Linked DNA regions of Homo sapiens: regions 1 and 3 are each linked to region 2. Evidence: promoter capture Hi-C in 16 types of primary human blood cells and fetal thymus (Javierre and others, 2016). All regions are on one chromosome and are shown on one strand. Each heading gives the region's core, a stretch centred on a gene start or on the middle of the fragment in contact. The rest is flanking DNA. Distances are from core to core; before and after follow the strand shown. Region 1 has its middle 30 kb from the start of LINC00502. Region 2 holds the start of PCGF5 (polycomb group ring finger 5). Region 3 holds the start of LOC124902479 (a long non-coding RNA gene).

Region 1 (2,703 bases), core at 191-2,690, 140 kb before region 2:
CAACATGGCACATGTATACATATGTAACAAACCTGCACGTTGTGCACATGTACCCTAAAACTTAAAGTATAATAATAATAAAATTTAAAAAAAAAGATTGCCCTAATTGTCCCCCAATAGGTCCTCCTTAGTACTAGAATTTCCTCCAATACTGTATTTCTTTTGAGCTAGGTGTGGCCTTGTGAACTAGTTCAGTCAATGATTCAAGAATAAAAGTGACACAACAGCTTCTAGATCATCTTGTTAAAGACAAGTTTGCCCTTTCTGCAGGCTGTGCCACAGACATAAAGGTGACAAAGCTTTGGCCATGAAGATGGGGACATGGCAGAACTAGAAGGTGGAAGGAGCCCTGTGTCCCTGCAGGACCACATGGAGCAAGAGATGCCTCACTGGCTCAGTGACTGGCTGCTTTTTGAGTCATCTTACGTTTGTGTTTCTTGACACAGTTACTCGGCCTAATACCCTAACTAAAACTCATGCTATTTTCTTGTATCTAAGGTCTTCTTCTGAAGGCCTAAATCACAAACTGCTTGAAGTCTCCCCTAGACTTTAATACCTAAATTTATTGAAAAGATGTTCCTGGGAGAGGAAGAGAGAATAAGAAATGAACTTTGGACAAGAGGAAAGAGAAGGGATTATTTCAGAACCCATAAACAGAAGGGACCCTCTCTCCACTCTCTGGCAGAGTCCCACGAATAGTATGTCATAGGGGGAACTACTGCATTGTGCCCCAGGGAAGCTCCAAGCCTCATCGTACAATACCATGTTTGGAGGTGGTGGGGGCAGAGATGCCAGATGCGAGGGGAGAATTTGAACTGGAACAAAGAAAGGCTTAGCAATAACCAGCCAATCAGTTAACAAAGGGTGCATGCTAATGCTCTACCATTGGAAAATCCAGGAACATTTAATCCAATAGCTATCAGTGTGGAGCCTCAATACTAAGTAGGATGGATTTCCCATTTGCCTGGAAGGATGGAAACACTGAGATAGAATTTACTTTTAAATAAACACAGAAGTATGGTATTTCTGGCACTCCAAAGTTTGTGGGTATAGAGTCAATCAAATACATCATCATCGTTGTTGTTTTACCCAAGAGTCACACCAGGTTTTGTATCTATACCAGGGTAATCCCTGCCTTGGCCCAGGGACTATCTAAGGCTGAGCTGCAGAGTGAAGGCATTTGTGTCTCCAGTGAGGAGGACAGGGAAGGCAAGGCAGGAGGCAACCTCATGCTTTCAAATGACTATGGCTCTATATCTGGGTGCCTCTAATGTCTACCAGGTTATCTTTCTCTCTACCACAGTACTGAGCTTGACAAAATCAAATAGGGGTAGCTTGGGGACAGTGATTACTCAGTGTCCTTCATCTAAAGCTCCTTGGGAACAGTGAACTCCTGGGTATAAGCATCACAAGAGGATGGGGGTCTTTAGGGCCTTCCTTAGAATTGCAGATGAGCTGTAGCCAAGAAAGACTCTAGAGATCCTACAGTACCACCAGTCCTTTACCCACATGAGCAAACCAGGACCCAGAGAGAATAGACTTGCCCACATTTACACAGCTGGTTGGAGGCACACATGAGACAGGGACCAGTGGTCTGGATTCTCAGACTAGTTTCTAATTTGTTACACATAGGAGGAACCTGGAGAAAATTTTGTCCACTGCTTTCACTGGGGGCAACTTAAAGGAGGATGAAATGTCCATATTCCTCCTCCATAGTCTTGCCCAAGGTGCCATAAATTCTCAGTATTTATTTCAACACTTGAAGCCTTAAGCCCATAAGCTCTTAAATGGACATAAGCAGGAACAAAATTCCACGTGAATGCAGAAGGGCATGTGGAAGACAAAAAAGTGCTGACAGGTGGGCTTCCGGAGGACTCATGGGAGAGCTGTCTTCCAGCTGTGTTCCAGCATCTCTCTTTCATTCTCTTCCTCCCTCCCTCTATCCCCTTCCATCCCTCTCTCCTTCCCCCTTTACTCCTCCCCTCTGTCCCTTCTCTCCCTTTCTCCCCTCTGTCTCCCTGAATGACAGACATGCACATCTTTCCTAGTTGGGGGAGGTGTACAAGAGGAGCTAGGGTTAATAAAGACAAGAATTTTTCTAGTGGCCAGTGCCTCCTGGAAACCTCTGAGATGCTTTGTAAATTACAAAGGGCTAACAAACTGTGAAAAGGCTCACTAAAAAGGCCTGAGATTTTATGGCCCTAAGTCAGGTGTAACAAACAGCTAGAGAAGGCAAACAAAGCTGCTTCTTGGCACCCAAGTGCACTGGTCCGGAGAAGTGAAGTAGCCAGCCCAACTGTCTGTTCTCAAACTCTTCCTTCCTCTCTTCCTTTCACCGTCTCCCCCTTCTTCCCTCCCTCCTACTTTTCCTCCCTTCCTTTTCTCACCCATTAACTAATCCAAAAACATGTATTTGAGTTTATTCCATGAGCCGGGAACCCTGAGTAGATTCTATGGTTACAAACACAACCTTTAGTCTCTGCCCCAGAGGACATCGTACCATTTTTGTAGATTATTCATTTATTTATTCAACACACATTTAAGTGTCGCTGGGTTAGGACAAATACGGCCCCCCAGGATTGAAGCTTACACGGATACACACCCTACACAATTAGTAACTCCCTTCTACTAAGCATCCAGAGAAATACACGGTTCTAAAGACTGATTACAAAATCGTCTTTCCCTTTTCCCACCCCTTTCTCA
Region 2 (2,925 bases), core at 366-2,865:
GCGAAACCACAGAACACTTAACTGCAAACTATTGCTGCCTCTCCAGACACAAAGCACAGATTGCCTTATAAAAGTTGTAGTTCTCCCTCATCCCAAGTCCATTCTGGCAACCCCACCTCCACATTCATCCTCAGGTACTGCTGTATCACATGTTTGTGACCCCTTCCTTCATTGCTAACATATGTCATCCTAAAACCCGCCTTCAAGCTCGTTTCCTTCAGGAATACTGATTAACCGCACTTGTGATAGGTCACCAATCACATTTAAGCCCCCTGGACTCCACTGTTATTCTTTTAAAACATATTTAAAATAGTTTCAGACACAAAATAGGAACATACCAAGTCTTTTTTATATATTGTGGTATATATACAGTAATATCCTCCAATGCATATTTTAAACACACTAGAAGTAGTGTGATTTTTCACATACTGTTCTGTTTAGTCTCTGAAATGAAAGATATGAAGCATAAAGAGTAATCCTACTGCCATGAAGTCATTTGACCTCACTTGTTTTCTCTTACTCATTGTGATTGCTGCGACTTATGAAGTTGATCCCAGCTTGGACATTGGCATGTATGATTTTGGAAAATGGTTCTTTAAAGGACTATACGAATGTGGTCATTTAAAGCTGTTTCAGAAAATGTATTGCTCCTGCTGTGATATTAGAAATGGCAATTTTTAAACATGTCAAAGTTTGATTATAAAATGGATAGTTTAAAAAGCTGCCTTGGTCTACTGCTTGATGCATTTTAAATTTGAAATGGATCTTTGAACACTTGTATGGCTGCTGGACTAGCGGTTGTTAAGTTTGTTGGTTTGCCACTTAGAGTCATCTATCACTTTAGTAAGAAGTTAACGCCTATCAGTTGGAGAAAAAGCAAATATTTTGCATTGACAGTCTCCCCTACCCTCTATTATTGTCATTTTCTTAAGCCATCACTGCTCTGGCTTCTAGAATACACATTTTTGAATGAAGGTTTTTGCAGTGAATGGTCTCTTGTAGATCTCAAAGTCCACTAGAAAGAGTACTGGGTTTTTGTTTGTTTTGAACGTTGCAAACAGTAATGCTTCTTTACCACTCACCCTCCCCCCACCCTCAACCTCCACAACGTTCCCGTTTGCTTATAGTTGTCAACGACCATGATCTCTGGACCCACACTACAGTAACAAGTTTGTCAGTCATTTTCAGATAAGGTGCAAATCAAGGGATGGCTTTGTCCCCACTTCGGCGCAGGTGGGACAGACTTGGGGAAGACGCAGCTGAAGAGACAAATTCTCAGGGTGCGTCAGTCTCATCACTGACCGTTGCTTTTAAACCCTCCAGGGAAAATATGCCAGTCATTGTTATGATGTAAACAACCGAAGGGGTGGACGGTGAGGATAAGAAGAACCGAGATAATATTTGGCCAGAGCTACGTGTAGCACAGGGAGCCAGGGCGGCAGCTGCACCTGCGAGCAGCGCAGGCGGCAGGCGCGGCCTCCGGGCGTGGTGGTGGGCGTGGCCGGGCGGCGGGGGCGTGGCCGGGCGGCGGGGCGGGCGGTGCCGCCGGTTGGAAGTGGGTGGAGTTGCCCTTGGAGGCGGCACCGGACCTGGGCCCCGAGGCCCGCCGCGCCCTGTCGGGCCTGAGCCGAGTGGCCCCACAGAGCCGGCGCGCTCCCGCCTGCAGGGGGAGAGCAGACGGGGCGCGGGGACCGGCCAGGCCGCGGCGGGTGCTGTTTCTGTTTCACTTTCCTTCACTCTGAGGCCGGCGCGCTGGCGGGCGAGGAGCGGCGGCGGTGGCGGCCGCTGGGTAGGTACCGGGCGGGCTGGGGAGCTGCAGGGACGCCAGACTCCTCACCCAAGTTTGCGCCTCAGGCGAGAGCGACACCTCCAGACACCTGCCCTGGCCGGCCCAGCCTGGAGCCGGGAGGGCCCTTCGGGTGCAGGGGGCTACCGACCCGGGCGGGGGCTTCGGAGCTGTGCCTACCTCGGCGGGGAGAGCGGCCGGCTGCGGACGCCGGCCCCGGGAAAGGCTGCTCGCTCTCCCCGGCCTGAGCAGCGCGCCCGCGGGGCCTGGGCCCGCGCACCTGCCGGGCGGGCGCGGCTGTGCTGGGACCCCACAGGGCTGTACCGCTGGGTCCTGCCGGAGAACGCAGAAAAGTTCCCCCTTGCCCCCGCCCCGTCATTGCAAGTTCTTGCTTCCCTTAACTGTCTTGGTCACAGGGCTCTGTGCCTTAGGATCTTAGTACCACCCCAGGTCGGGACCGTGCATTTCCTCTTCCAGAGGACTTTCTCTTACTTTGGAGTTTCATGGCAAACCTGTGGGAAAGGCAAGGCAGTTAATCCCAACTTATAGAGGAGGAAGCCGAGACCCAGGCTCAGATATGAAACGGTTTGCTGAAGGTCATACAGGGGTAAGGGCCAGAACCCTGATTCCCTGTCTTTTAATTATGCTTGCTTTCTGTTACACGCACGAATACGGTTTCCCAAGAGGATAGGATGATTACACGTAGAGCCTATTCCCTGCACATTCGCAGTGGGTATGTGTTGATGGAATGCCTTTTACCTTTCCGGTTGCTTTATATTTACCAATGAGTTAACAGCTAAGATGGGGGAAAGTTCCTGTTTATAGAATGCACTTAGGAAAATCAACACCTTTCATGTTGTGTTTTCTGAGAGGATACATATTTTACAGTTAAAAAAAAAAAAAAACCTGAGACAGGAAAGTAGCATTATCCAGGTTATATATCTACTAAATATGACCAGTTTCTATTGAAGAGTTTTTGGTCTAACAAAGAAGGTAAAGAATGAACGTAACTATAAATCAAAATAAAAGGCAAATGTAATAGGAAAGAAGTAAGCATTAAAAACTAGGGAAAGATTGCACTGAGAATAGCATTGGAGAAGGGCTTGAAGGATAGGTGGCATGCAGACAGAGGAGAGAAA
Region 3 (2,934 bases), core at 248-2,747, 200 kb before region 2:
TGGATGTTGCTTTCAAACCCTTAATACAAGTGGAAAAATTTTGAAAACCTTGCTACTCAGAGTGTGGTCCATGGACCAGCAGCGTGAGCATCACCCAGGAGCTTGCTAGAATGAGAAAAGCAGAATCTCAGATCCTATCCCACATCCACTAAACCAGAATGTGCCTTCCCAGGTGATTTGTCTGCATGTTCAAGTTTGAGAAGGAGAGCTGTTGAAAACATTCAGAAATTATGACATGACTGATACTTTGAGAAGTTCTCTAAGGATCAGACAGCAGAGGAGCAAAACTAGTCTGTCTGGAAGAAATCATCAGTTGATTAGTGAAACATCAATCAGGGATTAATCAAGGATTTGAAAGAGAACAGGAACCTGGCAGCTAGGGAAACAGTGTAAGAGGCTGAATCTAAGAAGCAAGCATAATCTTACAAAAGCAAGATAGACCAGACTTCAACTTTCAGAAGCATAGTCTTTACTGGAAATTCTTTATCCCACTTGCTGATTGCAGGAAACAGTCACTTCCAGCAAGGTAAGGGGTGGTAGGAATGTGGTTGGCAGGAAGTCCCTTTGGGGACTTTGCAGGCAGGAACCTCCCTCTGTGACAGAGGGACATTGCTGTTATCTCAGGCTAGGCTGGCCTCCATACTAGCAGGCCTGGGCTACCTGTGCTTACACCTCTTCCTTCTTCACTCAGCCTCAGCATCACTGTGCCATATGGTCAGGCCTCCAAAATCTGCCTTAGCTGTATTCCTCCGTCGTCTTTCTTTTAAAGGTTGAATTTCATCAGGATTTATTTGAAACTCTTGTTTAAAAGCCTGATTCTTGCCCTCCCAACTCCAAGTCCTCAAGGGACCTGATAGTGAAGGTCCAGGATGGGATCTAGAAAATACATTTGTAATAAGCACCATATGTGATTTTGCTGCAGATGTTTCCAGACTAGATTTGCAGAAGCAGCCTTCCTTCAGTCGCACTCCTTTGCTGCTCAGAGTCTTACCAATTGAGAGGTGAGGATATGGAGACTCTCAGATACATGCTGGATCCTTTGTAATATCTACTCCCTCTCTAACTTCTCCTTTGCAGCGTCAGTTTTCCAGACTATGTTCTTCTTCCCTACTCCTTCATCACTTTTTCCCTCTGCCCTCACTGCCTTCCAGTGACCTTCAGACAGGTACAGGCTACCCATCCACAAATATTCAGCCCTCACCAACTCTCACCCACTCTAAATTCCTCTAACATGGTCTCTTTCTTGCTATCTCCAATTCCACTTGTGGAATTCTCCTCTGGATTCCAGCCAGCTTGTACTCTTCTCTTCTACAGTTTCTCCAGGTCTCCAATTACTTCTTTGAGGGCATATTAAAAAGCCTCTTTATGCTTCTCCTCCTTGACCGCACAGCTGCATCTGCCACTGCCAATCACCCTCTTCTCTGAGCACCCTAGCACTGCTGGGATGGGCATGTTCAAGGCTGCATCACACTTTGCCTTTCGACAGAATCAATGAGCCTGGCTCCTGTACTGTAGATAGATCTCAGGATTCAGCAGGTGTTCCTTCTCACTGCCTCAGGTGCTTCCTTTAATCCTCTGGAAATTGTAATACTGCTGGGGAAGCCTAAAAGCTAAACTATCTTCACAATCGACTGTATTAGGACTGTTTGAAGATCTGATCTTACAGTCAGGACTGGCTACATGGTTTGCAAGGGCCAGTGCAAAAAGAAAATGTGGACCCTTTGTTTAAAAGGTCTTAAGAAATTTCCAGATGATGGTAGCAGAACTTAAACCAGGGGGAGGGCTTTTTATTTTTAAGTGCAGAGCCTGTGTGACTTCGTAGATCACATGCTCAGGAAGCTGGCTCTGCTGATGGTTGACCCAGCCTGTTAGCTTGGTGACCCTCAGGACCAGATAAGTTAGTGAGAACATGGTTAAAATTCAGATAAACTCATAGCTCACATTCCCAATATACCAGCTAGTTTTCCCAGTGCAACACCCTCCAGGGTCACAGTCTTCACTTCTCACTTCTGTAGGTTCCAACATGGGCCTCGTCATCACCAGAAGGACAGGGGAGCATGAGAATGACACAGCACAGCTACTCACCAAAAGGATGGGGAAGAAACAGCCCAACAGGGCAGGTCAGAAGCATCATCATCGTTGTTTTCATAATTGGAGTACCGAATAGTATAAAACTCAATCCTAAATGCTGTGCTCTAGCTCTTCCCCATTTCCAGCCCCTAAACCCCACAAGACCAGACTGGAGACAGAAACTGGAATCCAAGCAGCAACAAGCCTCCCTGCTTTCTTTGGGGCAGAGCCAAAAAGAGATAAAGAACGTGTTGTATTAGGCAGCAGTAAACAGGCAAGGGACAAGCAGGCCTTTAATAAAACAGACCTTTATTGGGGCTAAAATGGCCCAGGGCTGACCCTACCCTAAATCCTGGCAGTGTCCAACGACAGGAATTCAGAGGAACAAAAACGCTGGCATTGCCTGCTGCATCCCATGCATACATAACAGAAAGCACTGCAGAACCTCACAAGCAAGGAATACATAAATGCCATTATCCAGTCTTTCAGCCAAAACTTATTTTTTAGTCTGGACGACTATGCTATTCTGCTTTCTCTGCCTCCAATTTCTGTCCTGTGACTCACAGGGAGGGCTTTGGGGAAATGAAATATCCCAAGACCTAAAATAGGTCCTTCTCCCTCCCTCTAATATCAGGATGAGTTTCCTAAGGCATTTGTTTCTTCCTTAATTAACCAGGCATGAATGATAATATTGCCTGGGTTGAAGAACTCATCTCTGTCACTGGTAAATATAAATAACGAGCCCTGTTCATAGAAAAGCGTGCCAGAATTTCATTGATTAACATCCCGTGCCACAGCCTCTCTTTGAAATTAAAAACACTTTCAATGACACTGAAAAGACATTGCACAAAAAAAAATATTTCT

The links. The method cuts DNA at HindIII sites, captures the fragments that hold promoters and counts their contacts. A CHiCAGO score of 5 or more calls a contact.
Region 1: a contact is called between a fragment that was not itself captured here and the fragment with the promoter of PCGF5 in region 2, in 1 of 17 cell types (naive CD8 T cells). The highest score is 5.3, in naive CD8 T cells.
Region 3: a fragment that was not itself captured here is called in contact with the fragment with the promoter of PCGF5 in region 2 in 3 of 17 cell types (naive CD4 T cells, naive CD8 T cells and non-activated CD4 T cells); the score reaches 7.8 in naive CD4 T cells.

What each region holds. Positions count from the first base shown.
Region 1 is chr10:91,074,956-91,077,658 of GRCh38, forward strand. No RefSeq gene overlaps it. Among named protein-coding and RNA genes, the nearest start is that of LINC00502, 30 kb to the left of the region's middle. The HindIII fragment of the contact is 2,286 bases long and covers 298-2,583 here.
Region 2 is chr10:91,219,048-91,221,972 of GRCh38, forward strand. It overlaps PCGF5 (polycomb group ring finger 5), which reads left to right and starts at 1,616. Exons shown (of 10, transcript NM_032373.5): 1 at 1,616-1,789. RefSeq lists an enhancer at 1,156-1,225 and silencers at 1,416-1,725, 1,796-2,255, 1,945-2,239. The HindIII fragment of the contact is 12,523 bases long and covers 1-2,925 here.
Region 3 is chr10:91,021,238-91,024,171 of GRCh38, forward strand. It overlaps LOC124902479 (a long non-coding RNA gene), which reads right to left and starts at 2,241. Exons shown (of 2, transcript XR_007062238.1): 1 at 2,086-2,241. The HindIII fragment of the contact is 3,179 bases long and covers 1-2,934 here.